Linked DNA regions of Homo sapiens: region 1 is linked to region 2. The links are contacts of gene promoters, found by promoter capture Hi-C in human tissues and cell types (Jung and others, 2019). All regions are on one chromosome and are shown on one strand. The core of a region is centred on a gene start or on the middle of the fragment in contact, and the rest is flanking DNA. Distances in the headings are between cores, read along the strand shown. Region 1 has its middle 17 kb from the start of CYP11B1. Region 2 holds the start of GML (glycosylphosphatidylinositol anchored molecule like).

Region 1 (3,763 bases), core at 124-2,623, 63 kb before region 2:
CCGCATGTAGTGGATCACAATTTTTATCCATTCTGCCTTTTCAATGGAGAGTTTGAACCATTTATATGTAAAGCAATTACTGATAAATAAGACAACTTCTATAATTTTTCTATTTGTTTTCTCTAGGTCTTCTACTGTTTATTTGTATCACAGAAATACAAAGGATTATAAGGCAATAGTGGAATCTATTTCTTTAGCTTGCATTAATCTGATGTTTTGACAAATTTGAGAGAGATTTTCTCCTTGAACACCAGGAGGAAAAGAAAAGAAAGAAAAAAAGAAAAGAAAAGAAAGAGGGGAAAAATAAAAAGACAAGAAAAATAATCACACTGTCTTTGTCTTTGCAGTTTGGGCCTGTTTTCGGGGCACTCCTGTAAACACAGCCAACACTGTCTTTGTCTTTGCAGTTTGGGCCTGTTTTCGGGGCACTCCTGTAAACACAGCCAACACTGTCTTTGTCTTTGCAGTTTGGGCCTGTTTTCGGGGCACTCCTGTAGACACAGCCAACACTGTCTTTGTCTTTGCAGTTTGGGCCTGTTTTCGGGGCACTCCTGTAGACACAGCCAACACTGTCTTTGTCTTTGCAGTTTGGGCCTGTTTTCGGGGCACTCCTGTAGACACAGCCAACACTGTCTTTGTCTTTGCAGTTTGGGCCTGTTTTCGGGGCACTCCTGTAGACACAGCCAACACTGTCTTTGTCTTTGCAGTTTGGGCCTGTTTTCGGGGCACTCCTGTAAACACAGCCAACACTGTCTTTGTCTTTGCAGTTTGGGCCTGTTTCCAGGGCACTCCTGTAAACACAGCCAACACTGTCTTTGTCTTTGCAGTTTGGGCCTGTTTTCGGGGCACTCCTGTAAACACAGCCAACACTGTCTTTGTCTTTGCAGTTTGGGCCTGTTTTCGGGGCACTCCTGTAAACACAGCCAGGAGGATTATAATTAGACACTGTCTTAGCATCTGTCCTGCCCTAGGAGCTTGTGGTTTTCTAGATTTCCCAGCATAGGTTGGCATTTCAAATCCTCTAGCTTCTCAAAGAAACACTCTTCCAAGCTTTTTCTTCTAGTGTTTTGACAAAGTTTTTTTTTCTTTCCTCAAGTTGAATCTTTTGCCTTTGATGATATCAGGTTACTCAGCTGCCTTACAATATTTTTGATGCGGGTCTTCCATAGCTACTTTTCCACTTGAATACATTCCAAGTTAGGCAAAACAAAGGCAAGGCCCTTGCATCAGTTCCTCAGGTAGTCCACAGAAAGGTTAGAACAAATAATGACAATTTTGGGGAATAAGCGCTGCCCTGATCCTTCTGTCTCCAGACCCCAGCATCCCACACTGGTAGCTTGAGCTGCCATCTTCAAAGACAGCCACTGATCTGGGGTGGGCAAAGCCAGAGCAAGTAAAGATACAGGAAAGCTTCTCTACAATGTAAGAGTTGTCACTTTCTTCATGTAGCATTTATGTGGTGGCCAGAAATAATTATTTTCCAGAGCCCTGACAAAGTTAATTTGTGCAGTTTTTGCTTGTTTTTTGAATGTTACTGTGATGGGTCACACATTTAGAGCTGCCCACCGCATTTTTGCTGAAGTCCTGGATTTCTTTGGCGATTTTAGAAATTAATAAAATTGGATGTAGTGATAGTTGTACATATTTGTGACTATACTACCAACCTTTAATTGTATACTTTCAGTAGGTGAATTATATGGTATGTGAATAACTTCTCAATAAAGCTATTTAAAAATAGAATCAGGCCAGGCATGGTGGCTCACCCCTGTAATCCCAGAACTGTGGGAGGCTTAGGCCGGACTTCAATACAACACTTTTAGCAATAAACAGATCATCCAGACATAAAATCAATAAGGATAAATCAGAATTGAATACATTTTAGACTAAATGAATCTAACAGAAATATACAAAACATTCGATCCAACAGTAGCGCAGTACACCTTCTTCTCAAGTGCACACAGATCATCCTCCCACATAGATAATATGTTAGATGAAAGAACAAGTCTTAAATTTAAGAAAATTAAAATCGTATCAAGTATCTTTTCTGGCAACAATATAAAACTAAGAAATCAATAGCAGCAGGAATTACAGAAAATTCACAAATATATAAAAATTAAACAACATGAACAACCAATGGGTCAAAGAAGAAATTTAAATAAAAAATTTAAAATATGTTGAGACAACTGAAAATGGAAACACAGTAGAGCAAAATATATGTAATGCAGTAAAAGCAGTTCTAAGAGGGATGTTTACAGCAACAAATGCCTGCATGAAAAAAGAAGAAAAATCTCAAATAAACAATGTAACATTACACCCAAAGGAACCAGATAAAGAAAAAAATAAAACCAATGTTAGCAGAGGGAAGGAAATAAGATCAGAGCAGAAGTAAACAAAATAAAGATTCCAAAAGCAATACAAAAAATCAACAAAACTAAGAGTTGGTTTTTTGAAAAGATAAACAAAATCAACAATCCTCTAGCTATACCAAATAAGAAAAAAAGAAGACTTGGGGTAAAATCAGAAGTAAAGGCTCAGAAGTAAAATCAGAAATGAAAGAAAAGACATTGTAACTGAAACCACAGAAATACAAAGCATTATAAGATTCTACTATGAATTATTGATTAACAACACATTAGATGACCTAGAAGAAAAGGATAAATTCTTAGACACACACAACCTACCAAGGCTGCATTATGAAGAAATATAAAATCTGAATGAGAGAAGAGAGACAGACCTTCTCATATTGTTTTATGTTGTTTTATACTCTGAAAAGGAAAGAGAAGCCAAACTAAAGGCAGGTGCCCCGGCGCCTAGGAACCAGACCCAAATCCAAGAAACCAGAACCGAAACCAAGCCTGGGCCTGACCTAAGCCTGGTAGTTAAAATTCGACCCCTGACCTAGCAACTGCTGTTATCTACAGATTACAGAAAGACATTGTAAAACTTCCCGGTCTGTTCTGTTTCACTCTGACCACCGGTGCATGCAGACCCTGTCACCTACCCCGTTTACTCAATCAATCATGACCCTCTCACGCAGACCCCCTTGGAGTTGTGAGCCCTTAAAAGGGACAGGAATTGCTCACTCAGGGAGCTTGGCTCTTGAGACAGGAGTCCTGCCGATGCTCCCGGCCGAATAAACCTCTTTCTTCTTTAACTCGGTGTCTGAGGAGTTTTGTCTGTGGCTTGTCCTGCTACATCAACAGACCAATAACAAGTAAGAGACTGAATTAGTGATTTAAAATTTCCAGTTAAAGAAAAGTTCAGAACCTGATGGCCTCACTGCTCAATTCTACCAAACCTTAAAAAAAAACACAAAAAAACCTTCTCAAACTCTTCCAAAAAATTGAAGAGGAGATAATACTTCCAAACTCATTTACAAGGCCAGTATTACCTTAATACCAAAGCCCAACAAACACATCACAAGAAAATAAAATTTCAAGCCAATATCCCTGATGGACATAGATGCAAAATTCCTCAACAAAATACGAGCAAACTGAGTTCAACAGCATATTAAAGGGAACATTCACCGTGATTAACTGAGATTTATTTCGGTGATGCAAGAATTGTTCAATATATGCAAATCAATAAATGTGATTCACTACATTAAAAAAAGAATGGCCTTAGGATCATCTCAATAGATGCAGAAAAACACTTGATAAAATTCAACATCCTTTCATAATAGAAACTCCCAGCAAATTAGGTGTAGAAGGAACATACCTCAACACAATAAAAGCCATACATAGAAATCTCTCAGCTAATATCA
Region 2 (3,650 bases), core at 325-2,824:
ACACCACCATACTTCTGACCCTAAATATGTGAGTTTTTACACACAAACCAGTTCTCCAACTCTCTGGACACTGACCGTCCAACATTTCAATTCAATTCTGACACTGCCTTGAGCAGGGCAGACCCCACAGGTGAAGGGCTCAGTCCCACCCTAATGCCCCCACTTCAGATGCCAATCACAAGTCTGGGCCACGTGTACTTCTGACTGCCCAGTTATAAATCAAGGGTTTCCAAGACCACCTCCTCCTAGATAATTTGCTAGAACAGCTTACAGAGCACAAGAAAACAGTTTACTTACTATTACCAGTTTATCACAAAGGTGACAACTCAGGAACCGTGAAACGGAAGAGATGCATGGGGCAAATACAGGGTAAGCTTAAGATGGCTTCAGACAAAAAGAGTAGGAATATCTTATTATCAGCAGACCCACTACAAGAAATATTGAGTTCATAACATATATAGAAATAAAGTATATGACAATATCACAAAGCAAAGGAGGCTGTAGAACTGAAAGGCAGAAACAGTTACGTCAGCGTCGGCGAGTGCAGGCTTCCAGGCAAAAAACATTGCAAGAGGTGACAAGGACAGACACTTCAGAGCCGAATGCAGTTTCGGACACTGAGAGTCCATTTTCTGACTATGGTGGCATTAAGCAATAAGTCACCCCAGAAGGATTAACTGGAAAATCCTCATCTGTTTGGAACTTAAGAACACACCTCCAAATAAGAAATAGACCCCCAAATCCTTCTCAATAGAAGTCAAGAATATTTTGGGCAAAGTCATAATAAAGAATGAAAAATAGAAACCTGGCAGAAGTAGCCTGAAGGGACACGGAAGGAAAAGCAGGGCTCCATTAGAAAAGGCAAAAAGACTGGAAACGAAGGCCTCCTTCTCTCCTTCGAAAGCAAGGAGCCAGAAAAGAACGAGCAGCAGAACGTGGAACAGGCTGCGGCCCGAGACCCGCGCCTTGGGGAATCACAGACAGTGTGGGGGTGGGCGGCCCCGGGACACCCCGAGGGAAGGGGACTCAAGAACTGAACGGAGCCCCAGCCCCAGACTCTCGAGGGAAGTTGAGCTGTAAGGGGAGGGGGGCCCCAGGGAAGCGGAGTTGGGGTGCTGGCATCTCCCTGGGACCCCTGAGCATAGTTGGGGGGTCTCCCTGGGACCCTGATGGGAGTGGAGCTCGAGAGGTCCCCCAGTACCCCTGAGAGGAGCTGAATTAGGGGGTCTCCCTGGGACCCTGAGGGGAATGGAGCAGGGGGCGTCTCCCCAGGAACCTGCGGGGAGTGGAGTTTTGAGGGGTCCCCCTGGCACCCCTGAGAGGAGCTGAGTTCGGGGGGTCTCCCTGGGGCTCCGAGGGGAGTGGGGGCACCCCATCCAGGGAAGCGCGGCGCACCCCCGGCGGCGTCCTGGCGGCCCAAGCAGCTGACGAGGAGGCTGCCTCAGCTGGGCCCCTGGGCAGACTCCAGTCTCACGCCTGGGTCCCGACCCGCCTCAGGAAACTGACCTGTGCCCCTCGGAGCCCCGCAGTGTGCGTGCCCGCCGCCTCCAGCCATCTGAGCCTCCCGCGCCGACCTCCCCACCCGCTTTCTGGAACTTTCGGGGGCCTCCGCCGGCCGCACAGCCCCGCCCTCCTTCCGGACCCTCAAAGCCCCGTCCCCAGGCTCCAGGCCTCCAGCCCATCTGCCAGTGTTCAAAGGTGGGCAGGGTCCCCCTTGGGGCTCCCAGGTGAAAATATTTCTCACAGAAATCTGCACACCCTGGCTCCATCCACGCTCCCTTTAGGAAAGCCACGGGGAATGTTCTAGAAGCGCACGGCCCTGGCTGCTGGAGAAACGGGACAGCAGCCACCCTCGGCAGCCTGTTGGCACCGCCCAGGCCCACCCTGCCCTCAAGGTCCCAGTCCACCTGCCTCGTTCCTGGACCCTCCCTCTAGGGGGTCCCGCCATCACCATAACCCCTGGGGACCCCGGGAGCCCCTCCGCTCAGGGTGCGACCCCGTCGCCTCTGGAGCCGGCCCTGTCCCTAACCCTGACCAAAGCCAGCTTGAGCGGTGCCCTTGCCCTTCAGCCCCGCCAGCGCCCACCTGTGCAGAGGTTTCAGGGGGAGACCTGCCTGGCTTTCGCTTGAGCTCCTGCCATTTTGCCTTCAAGCTGTGTGTGGCCAGGGACAGCTGGCTTCACCCGAGCATCTCCTACACAGTGTGGCTTGGCTCTTGTCGAAGTCATATAAAATAGGTGAATTTCTGAAATTGAAATGTTTTATTTGGGAGGAAATAACTGCAATTAGGGGCACGGGGGCAGACTGGCTGGCCTTCAGTATGTCCAAAGAACAAAGAAAAGGCTTTTTTAAATTCGCGGTGGCTTACACCTGTAATCCCAGCATTTTGGGAGGCTGAGGCGGGCAGATCATTTGAGGTCAGGAGTTCAAGACCAGAGTGATCAACATGGTGAAACCCCGTCTCTACTAAAAATACAAAAATTAGCTGGGTGTGGTGGTGTGTGCCTGTAGTCCCAGCTACTCAGGAGGCTGAGGCAGGAGAATCCCTTGATCCCAGGAGGTGGAGGTTGTAGTGAGCCGAGATCGTGCCATTGTGCTCCAACCTGCAGGACAAATCAAGTCTCTGTCTCAAAAAAAAAGGAACTATGTCTCTTTTTTATAAAGAAGAGAAATAGTACATATTGCTGTCTGAGTTTCATTGGCACTAGTAGGATTTTGGGGAGCTGGCAAGCTCTGGTTGATGAGTGAATCAGTGACGGCAGTGGGTGAACCGAGGCTTAGAGTTGCAGCAGGTGGTCTCAGTAGCCATCAGATAAAACTGGTTTCAGGTTACCGCAGACAGTTTCAGCAGTCAGGCCTCAGAGAAGTACATTCTTGGAGCAATGTTTTCTATCCTGAGTGCTGAATGGTCTCCCTACCTGGCACTCTGCCTTAGTTGGGTGTGACAAGGGTGACCCAATTTGTATGCTCACCTTTCACACCGAATCCTCAGCTCGGACGGGTTTCCCTTTCTAGGCTTTGACTTTCCCCTTGAACCTCATCCCACACACCTGTTCCATCGGGGCCACTGGCTTATGATGGAGACCAGTGGTATGACTGTGGCAGGCTCCTTCTAGGGGCACTCTGTCTCCTGGGATCTGCCACACTGGGGGGGATTCTACTTGGCCTTCTCTGACTCCCCAGGGTCCCTCCCACCACAGCACTTGGAGGCTCTTCCATGGGAAAACTGTCTTGATCTTTAGGTACCTGGAGATTCTGGGCCACTTTGGTTCCCCGTGAGCCAAGACGGCACTCTGGTTTGCATTCCCTACCGGAGTCCCTGTCTGTAGCCAGCCTGGCTTTCAGCTGGTGCCCAAAGTGACAAATGTATCTGCAATGACAAAGGGTACCCTGGGAAGGGCTCGCCCTCTGCGGAATTTCAGTTCATGCAGGCCTTGGTGCTTCCACATCTGTCCAAGGGCCTTTCAAATGTGACTTTTAACTCTGTGGATTGATTTGCCCGGTTGTCACATTCTGAGCAGCCACAACCTACTGCATCCCATGTAGAAGTGGAAGTGACCTGATTTTTTCCTGACTTTTCAAGGCTGTATGTTTACATTTGCCTCCAATCATTCCTATATGGGAATTCCTTGGGAGTCTAACTTGGAGACT

Evidence for each region. Contacts are between HindIII fragments. The study calls those that stand out against the background at their distance.
Region 1: a contact is called between a fragment that was not itself captured here and the fragment with the promoter of GML in region 2, in 1 of the 25 tissues and cell types used here (lymphoblastoid cells).

Annotation. Positions count from the first base shown.
Region 1 is chr8:142,895,264-142,899,026 of GRCh38, reverse strand. No RefSeq gene overlaps it. Among named protein-coding and RNA genes, the nearest start is that of CYP11B1, 17 kb to the right of the region's middle. The HindIII fragment of the contact is 4,037 bases long and covers 1-3,391 here.
Region 2 is chr8:142,832,725-142,836,374 of GRCh38, reverse strand. It overlaps GML (glycosylphosphatidylinositol anchored molecule like), which reads right to left and starts at 1,574. Exons shown (of 4, transcript NM_002066.3): 1 at 1,507-1,574. The HindIII fragment of the contact is 25,891 bases long and covers 49-3,650 here.